2 separate regions of the Homo sapiens genome follow, and region 1 is linked to region 2. The links are contacts of gene promoters, found by promoter capture Hi-C in blood cells and fetal thymus (Javierre and others, 2016). All regions are on one chromosome and are shown on one strand. Each heading gives the region's core, a stretch centred on a gene start or on the middle of the fragment in contact. The rest is flanking DNA. Distances are from core to core; before and after follow the strand shown. Region 1 overlaps LOC101928636 (a long non-coding RNA gene). Region 2 holds the start of LARS2-AS1 (LARS2 antisense RNA 1).

What was found. The method cuts DNA at HindIII sites, captures the fragments that hold promoters and counts their contacts. A CHiCAGO score of 5 or more calls a contact.
Region 1: a fragment that was not itself captured here is called in contact with the fragment with the promoter of LARS2-AS1 in region 2 in 6 of 17 cell types (megakaryocytes, endothelial precursors, M0 macrophages and 3 more); the score reaches 13.3 in megakaryocytes.

What each region holds. Positions count from the first base shown.
Region 1 is chr3:45,214,414-45,218,770 of GRCh38, forward strand. It overlaps LOC101928636 (a long non-coding RNA gene), which reads left to right. Exons shown (of 4, transcript XR_001740675.2): 4 at 1-2,361. Among named protein-coding and RNA genes, the nearest start is that of TMEM158, 9.7 kb to the right of the region's middle. RefSeq lists enhancers at 671-1,171, 1,172-1,672. The HindIII fragment of the contact is 3,051 bases long and covers 1,119-4,169 here.
Region 2 is chr3:45,507,784-45,512,461 of GRCh38, forward strand. It overlaps LARS2-AS1 (LARS2 antisense RNA 1), which reads right to left and starts at 1,762. Exons shown (of 4, transcript NR_048543.1): 1 at 1,574-1,762. All of the region lies in intron 15 of LARS2 (leucyl-tRNA synthetase 2, mitochondrial), which reads left to right. RefSeq lists an enhancer at 141-1,007 and a silencer at 1,834-2,128. The HindIII fragment of the contact is 1,698 bases long and covers 567-2,264 here.

The DNA of each region.
Region 1 (4,357 bases), core at 1,394-3,893, 290 kb before region 2:
GAAATCTGCCCAATGTTTTCTGAGCCTGGGCTGGAAGAGGCCTGCAAGGAAACCACAGGAACACACAATTTTTGCTCATAATGCAATTCAACAGAGAGTTCTTGAAGGCCTGTGTGGGCACATCTCTGAGACACCAAGATGGTAAAATTCCAGGATTCTCCCCACACCCAGGGAGGACAACCTAGCTGCCCCACTGTGCACTTTGGAGGCACAGCCCTCATTAGATTGCTGTGAGGATTTGGAAGGTCAAGTTCCTGGCATCTACAACCCATGCTAATTTCTTCTCTTCCTTACTTTAGAGCATGATATTCATTGCTAACTGACAAAGAAATCATTTTTAAAATGTGAAACATTTCTTCTTTCTTGTTTACCTCATTGACTTGAAAAAAAATCTTTACTCCATGGCCCTGGTCATTTGAATAGAAAAATGCAAAAATCATAATGATTTTATAGATTATTAGAGCCACGCAAACAGCCAATTTAGACAATCCAGGGCAAAATACATTCTGATATCTTAAGCATCCTCTTTTCTTACTTGTACATGTTTCCCCTTCAAGTCACTCAGAAAAATGAGAGGACTTGGCCTCTGTTTCAGTCTACCTGCTGGAAAAATCCTCGAGGGAAGTGTCTTTGTGGTGGATGTGGTCTGACTTGGCCTGGAAGATGGGGAGGGAAAGCCTGAACACAAAACTGCAGGCCTGCGAGGGACTGGGGCCTTACCTGCCCCAATCCCCTTGTTCTGTAGAGGAGGAGACGGAAGCTCAAGCTGCAGCCAAACAGCTCATGCATGGCAGGGCAGGTACTGCAAGCAGGTGTCCTGGGGTCCTGTCCCATGCTATTACCAGCCTGCTGGTGGCCTCAGCAAATTCCCTAATACTGAGGGGCTTCCCTTATAATGCACATACTGGGGAACCAGGACTTTGCACGCAATGACAGATGGCAGGGACTTCTGACCTCATTAGGGAGGGCCGGCATGACAAAGCCAGCTGTACCTCAGTGGGCCCCAGTGCAGGACACCAGAGACAAGACCACCCAGCCAGATCTCCTCGAGACTGGCAAGGCCTGGTGGTCAGCATTGTTGGCCGGAGAGGGAGTTGAAACTTTGATGGGCACATTTAAGCTTCATGTCCTCTGGGCACCCCCCACTCCACCATTGATGGGAATGGCACTGAAGAACACTGTGAGGTCTGCAGTGAATGCTGCAGGCACCCCATCCACATTCCTCTTACAGCTGCTCTGAGTGTAGGCTGCAGACTTCTCCCAGCTGCCTCCCCTTCTAGAGAGCTGGGCCCAGCTAAACGGAAGCTGCCAGGGAGGCTGTGCTGACTCCTCTACCTAGAATTTGACCCGTGATTGGTTAAAGTGGAAATACAAAAGACCAGCCCTTTGTCTCAAGGTGCAGCAACTGTGGTGCACGGCCTGCTCCAGAGGTTCCCCTGGGGTCAGGCTGAAGCCCACATCAGCTGAGACCACGTGCTTGCTTTGCTACTTCCCCTGCCCCATTCTGCTTCCCTCACTCCCCTTCTCCTGAAAGCATGCCCCAATTCATCGCTTGGATGAGACTCTCCATCTCAGGCTCTGCTTCTAGGGAACCCAGTCTAAGTCACGATCCATTCTGGAAGACCTTAACACTTTCCACTGACTGTGAGAGCTGCCGAATACATTTTGACCCATGGGTGGTTCCTGTCCTTGGTGATTCCCCGACCTCTGGTGAGATCTTTTCCTCTCTGGCAAGCCTCTGGATGTTCTGACTTCAGAGGGGTTCTGGCTGCAGCTTTAACTCAGCCATATGTTGTGACAGCTCTTGGAGCAGCATTACACGGGAGCAATATCCTTCCTGCTAATTGGATCTCAGAATTCATTTTCGGACCAAAGACATCAAATAAACCCAGGAAATACGAAGCCGTTTGCAGTTATGACTTGAGACGAATTGAGTTGTTCATCCTCTAAAGTTGTGTTCTGTTCCTTATCAGCCTCATCTGAAATCTCAGACACAAAAGCAGAGATGTTTCTGCCAGGAGGGGCGGAAAGTTCGGTCTGGTTTTGATATGTGTCTGGAGATGATAAACTTGGGAAGGGAAATATAGCAGATCCAATCCTCCCTCCCCCATCTCCATTAGGTCTTTGGCCTTGATAGATTTCAATATCCTGTGCAGCTGATGTCTGACCCACGCATCAAGAATACAGCCTTCACACACCTGCCGTGAGAAGCCCTCTATGACCTTCTGCAGAGGGAGGGAACTGCCTAAGAGCTGCTGAGTGCAGGAATGCAGGGTGCTAAGAAGCAGGTACCCAGTTTGGGGTTAAAATATGTATAATATATCCATTTGAATACCCATCAATAAATATCAGTCATGCTCACTTTTGGGTGCTGGGGGTTATTGGAGATATTGATTCATTTGTTTTATGAGTGGTATTTTCTAATTTTTCTATGATATAACACTGGTCTAGTAAAGAAATACAAGTTTTAAAAGCAGTTATGCACAACACAGTTCCTTTTTTTTTTGAGATGGAGTTTGGCTTTTGTCTCCCAGGCTGGAGTGCAATGGCGTGATCTCAGCTCACTGCAACCTCTGCCTCCCGGGTTCAAGCAATTCTCCTGCCTCAGCCTCCCGAGTAGCTGGGATTACAGGTGCCTGCCACCACACCGGGCTAATTTTTGCATTTTTAGTAGAGATGGGGTTTCACCATGTTGGCCAGGGTGGTCTCGAACTCCTAACCTCAGGTGATCCACCCGCTTTGGCCTCCCAAAGTGCTGGGATTACGGGCATGAGCCACCACGCCTGGCCATTTCCATTTTTTAATTTGAATAATTACTTATGGTCACACACACGTGTAAAACAAAACTGCAACTACATGCACCAAAATGTTTGCAGGGCTTAGTTTTGGGTAGTAGGAAGATGTGTGGTCTTTTCTTTCTTTTTTACTTAGCAAGGTATTCTATGACTTCAGGCAATGCTGTATGGTAAAATATCCATTCTCAGTCTCTGATGGACCTGCACAGTGTTAACCAACACAGGTCCCCTCTCAGGGACATGGTGATGGCCTTGCACTGGCATGGTGGTATGTGCCTTTCAGGCTGAGTGAGACACTGGAACTCAGTGATCCAAGGAGAGAGGATGGAGCTAGTCCCCTTGGGATAGCTCTGCAGGATAGAAGCCAGCAGAACCTGCTCCCAGCCACCAGGCAGGCTCCTGCCCATGTGCCCCTCCTGCCTGGAGTCTTCCCATGGAGGGTCCTCCATGTGCATGTTCTGCTCTCCATTCTCCCCGTGCCTCAGCCTCCAGCTCCAGGGCACCCACTCCATTCTCCCCTGTGCCTTGCGGTGGGAGCATTTGGGTCTCTCATTTTGTGCGAGTGCGGGGCTGATGAGAAAGGGGATCATCTTTCTGTTCTTAGAGCTGATGTTTCAATTCTCTTTTCCTTCTCTCCTCTTAGTTATTGCCTTTCCTTCTATTTCTTCTGCTTCTTCCCTCTCCAGTCCAAGGGAACCGTTATTAGTAATCATATTTATTATGATTACTGTATAATAATCATATTTATTATTATCACTATTTTCTAGTGTAGTCCTCCCTCAGCAGCTGCAGAGTTATCTAGAAACACAGGAGGGAAGATAGGGCGTAATGTTAAATTCTATGGTAAGAAAATCAGCATCTATCTTGCAAGAACAAATAATACATGGAATTAACTTGAGCCAGGGAATTCCTGAGGATCATAAATATTCTGAAATAAGATTCCAAGGTACTACAATAGCAAGACCACAGTTCTAGATCCTTACACAGTGTGGATCATGATTTAAGTCCAGAGTGGCTACCATAGAAGGCAGCCCTATAGGTAGGCTGGAAATCACAAATGTTACCCCCGGGATAGAAAAGTGCATTGGTAACAGTGGTGGCTCAGAGGGGCCTGGAGTGCCATCGCAAGGGGACTCTGGGGGCTCTGTCAGGTTCTAAACAAGTTTCTCCAACCTGCAGCCACTTGACCTCTAGATTGGGGTTGGGGTATTTGGGGGGTTGGAGAGATAGGGCCAGCAGCCTTCTGTCCCATGCCCACTGACCCTCAGGAAGTCTGATAGGACTGCCAGTAGCCCAGCAAGGACTCTAATCACAGAACAAAAGGGGTCCTGGTGGGGCACCTGGAAGGTAGGTTATTTTCTAGAGTGCCAAAAAAGCTTGCTGGGAGGCATGTTGTCTCCATAGTCAAAATGAGGCCTTGGCATGTTATCAAGATGCCAATCATTTTGATTTTTATCACTGATCCTGTGAAAGCACACAAAAGAATGCATCTTTGGCAGCACTCTAGTGCTTTGAGAGACAGTCCTGGGAATGCTCAGGCAATAAGAACGCCAGGAAAATAC
Region 2 (4,678 bases), core at 512-3,011:
ACTAGCTATCTCTGGGTGGTGAGCCCAATATACTTCTGATTTTTTCCAGATTTTTTACAATGATTGTGTAACTTTATCATTTACAGTATGGTATATATTCCAAAGAAGGAAAATATGCTGAGCCTCCTGCTGTGGTTGTGGGTGTGGGGTAGGATCAGCTTTCAGCTTCCCTCCTTCCGGTGGTTAGCACCAGGTTGAAAGAGAGGGGGCACATTAGAGCGTGGGAACATGTCATGGCCCATCTTCACTGAATGAGATCAGGAAGCCTTTTCTCTCCCTTTGTGGGAGACCGCTGTAAACATGGAATCTTGTCACTTTTTGTTGTAGCTCTGTAATGCAACTTAGACACTAAATTCCCCAAACTGAATTTCTCCCTTCAGTTTGGAATCAACAGAAAGTGGTGGCTGTCAGAAGCAAGCAGCTGCTCAGGGAGCTCCCATGAGAAGGGCAGGCCGCCTGCTGACCGTGGAGAGCACAGCAAGCCCCTATCCACAGAGCTTTCTTCTCTGTTACTCTGATCATGCCAGAAACGGGGCTACTGGGAAAAGGAACAGGAAGGGAAGAGAAGCTTTACTTGGGTCCTGCTGTATTAGTAAACCCTCCTTCTGCGCCACTAACTGGCTGCTAGGAAATGGGAATGGTGATATTTCAAGAATGAGCCATGGCTAATACTTAGAAACTAGGCTAATTATGTGACATGATGGCCCTGGGCACAGAACAAGGAAGAAGAGGAAGGTAAACTTAGTCTGATTTAATGAAAAGTCCAATTTGGAGACCATTTTCAGAGATCTATGGCCTTCAAAGATCTGCAGCCTGGCAGGCCACTCTCGCACCAGGTCAGGGGAGTGGGCAGCAGGCTCTCTGGGGCTTCATGAATAGGTAAATGTCATCTGCAGCAAGAAGGTGGGGCTCTGATACATCCTGATATTCTTTGCTCATACTGTAATTAGCACATTCCTTGTATATAGTGATTTTTTTAAGAGCACTTAACATGGCCAATCAATCAATGTTCTGAATTTCCTTGTTTATCCTAATAATTAGCAACTCCCTTCCTTCCCTCCCTTCCTCCCTCTCCTCCCTCCCTACCTTTCCTCCCCTCTTTCCCTGCCTCCCTCCCTTCCTTCTTTCCTTCTTCCAAGTGGGACAAATGTGGCCTTCAATGCCCAGCAGCTATCAGTTGTTGCAATTTCTGAGTTAGTGCAGTCTAAACTAATGAAGAAATTGTGAAGATCTCCCCCCAGTTTTCATCACTGTGCTTACATATAGCTGTGCTTCAGTGCAAGCAAGCATGATCTACCTCCAGGGATGTACCGAAGGAGTAGGAAGAAAGCTGACTCAGAAATCCAGGGCCTTCTTCAAGGCAGAGGCCCTGCCTAATACTCCCGCGTTTGATGGTCCCTGAGTCAGAACGGTTTGTTAGTGGTTTAGAGTTGCAGATTTTCCACTCACTTATAAAGGCCCCTGCTGTGCACAGTCACTATGATGAATGAATAACTCAGTTGCATACGCAAGTCTGTTCCCAAGTACCATCTGTTGAGTGAATGAATGAGTGAACAAAAGGGAAACACATTACCCCAATTGTGAATCTGAATAATGAACTTGGCAATGTGATGTGATCTCTGCTCCAGCAGGCCTGGGTTCCAAGTCCAGCAGGGCCCTTGATGTCCTTTGTCCTTCATTCCTGTGCACCTTGCGCCTCCAAATCACATTTGGTACGTCTTTCTTGTAGTGCTGATGGTTATTTATGAGCATGTCCTGGGCTGCCTGTTCTTATTGTAAGCTCTCCAATTAATTGCCTAGTGCTGTGTACCCAATTATCATGTAAATACATGTTGAATGAATAAACAAGTGTGACTCATTCAGAGCTAAACTACGCATGAGAGTAGACATGGCCAGCTTCAGCCAAGAGTGAAAACCAGATTCCCAACTCCCTATAGCCCATTCCCTGGCTCCCTGGAAAAGTGGAGGGAAAACACTTGGGAATGAGCAGGATTCTAGGAGCTGGGAAGCGCCCCTTTCCCCACTGGGAAATTCCATGTGAGCACTCATCGGGGCATTCCCCTGCTCTCATTCTCTTGCTTCAGCTGCTTGGGATCTTTCAATGCACCCCTCCCTGCAAAAAGATGGTGGCACTAGCTGGAAAGTATAGCATCCAGTGCCCCACTTCACTCATTTCTTTCTTCCCTCCTCTCTTGCCTCCACTTTGTCCTACTCACATTATCCCCCACCCCTGCTGCTGGTAGGTTTATTCATCCACTGAAACAAGCTTGATTGAGTTCAAGGCAATTAACATTACTGAGCATCTGTTAGGAACTGGAGACTGAGAGTGGCCTTTAAGGATTTTCAAGGCCAGGAGCAGTGGCTCATGCCTGTAATCCCAGCATTTTGGGAGGCCGAGGCAGGAGGATTGCTTGAGCTCAGGAGTTCAAGACCAGCCTGGGCAACATAGTGAGACTTCATCTCTACCAAAAATACAAAAAATTAGCTGGGTGTGGTAGTGCGCGCCTGTGGTCCCAGCTGCTTGCAGGGGTAAGGTGGGAATATCACTTGAGCCCAGGAGACTGAGGCTGCAGTGAGCTGTGATTGTGCCACTGCACCCCAGCCTGGGTGACAGAACAAGACCCTGTCTCAAAAAAAAATCATCCTCCTACTCCTCACAGGAGAAAGACAGGCAAGCAGCTTACCTAAATACACAATAAAATGTAATAGCTGCTAGATACAATTACAGGCACTACACAGGATGCATCAGGAAGGAAAAAACAACTAATTCTAATTCTGACCAGGAGATACCTTCTCAGTGGAGATGGCATTTGAGTTGAGCCAGGAAGGAGGACTAGAGTTTTGATAACAGTTTGGGAAATGGCGTGAGTAAAGACGTGGAAGCACATGCAGGCAACATTTGAAAGAGCAGAGGGAGTGGCAGGGGACAGGGAGAAGTCCTGGATGGCTATGCGGAGGAATTTGGACTTGATTGGGAGGAGGAGCTCTTCAAATATGACTGCACTCTTTCTTTTCCTCCCTCACAGCTCTGAGAGTTGTCAGGCATTGGTTTGGTTCAGTGATCGTAAACAGGCTGGCTCCCCAAGGGCAGAGATTGCTTTGCCCAACATTATATCCCCAGTGCCTAGCTCAGTGCCAGGCACATAGCAAGCACTCAAGAAATACCAAAGAAATAAGTGATACATTTCACATAATAACTCTGTGCTTTCTGATTATATGGTACGAAGAAGAATTCAGAGACTCGTTCTGAGCACCAGGAGTGCTGCTGTCGATGAATGGTGTCTGGGTGGTTGTAGGCAAGGGCACTGGGGATAGTTGGCTAGGTTTTGCCATCCCTGCTCTAGATGATCCATCTGAGATGGCCCCTGCTGCACTGCAACCCTCAGAGAAGACAGTCCAGAAGAGCTTCAACTGTCAAGTTTCATTGTTGGAAGCTTTCAGACATTAGGATATATTCATGTAACTAGCAGGTCTTGGTGTGGGTGCACTGCTGAGGACCTGCCTGCCAGTTCTGGGGAAAGCCTCCCATGTGGACATCCCCTGAGAGCTCTCACTAAGAAATGGCTACAAGCGGGTTAGAAACAGGCAGATGAAATAATAGTGTTAGCAGTCAGGCTATAGGGGCCCATAGTGAGGAGACAGTGCCTAGAAGCGGATGGAAGGTTGATTTCACGTTCTGCTAATTGGGCTGAATGCCAGTTACACAAGTGTGTTTTATATTGTGAAGATTCATCATTATACCGCTAGGACTTACACTTTTCAATATGTGTGCTATACCTCAACAGTTTACCTTAAAAAAAAAAAAGTTATAAAAGACGAGGCAAAAGTTGCAGCCTTAGGCTGAACAGCTGGGGTTAGTCAGTTTTTCGCAGGTTGCAATTCTGTCCGTTCTCGGAAGGTGGCAGTGTTGTGCCACTTGATAAAATACAAGACCTAAGAATAGGATTCCTTGGATTCCCAGCCCCTTCTTGAGGCTTAATGCTGCTGATTTTTTTTTTTTTTTTTTTTTTTGGAGACAGAGTCTCGCTCTGTCTCCCAGGCTGGGGTGCAGTGGCGTGATCTCGGCCCACTGCAACCTCCGCTTCCTGGGCTCAAGCAACCCCTGCCTCAGCCTCCCAAGCAGCGGGGACTACAGGTGCGCGCCCCCACACCTGGCCAACTTTTTGTATTTTAGTAGAGACGGGGTTTCACCATGTTGCCCAGGCCAGTCTCAAACTTTGAGCTCAGGCAATCCACCTGCCTCGGCCTCCCAAAGCGCTAGGATTACAAGCGTGAGCCACCGCGCCTGGCCAATGCTGCTGATTTTGATCATCCTACCTATCTTTATCTTTGAATCCAGATCATTCTCTCCTAACTTTTGCCCTAAAAACACCTTTAAAAATTTACCTTGAGCAACCAAAGCCATGTACTGGTGATGTTTGTGGGGAACATCACTGGATCTCCAGGAAATGAGTGCTCCTACCTGATACCCTGAACACGAAATACTTAACGTGTGTTATCAGCAGATATCGCCATGAATCATTCTTTGAGTTTGGAATAGGTCTTGCTGAAATGCCTCAAAATTGAATCAGGCAGATTCTTAAGAATAAACAACTGCAAATTTGCAATAATTTCAGTATGAAGGTCAACCTGTTCTTATCCTCTTATGAGAAAAAGTTTATATGTCACTATTTACCCA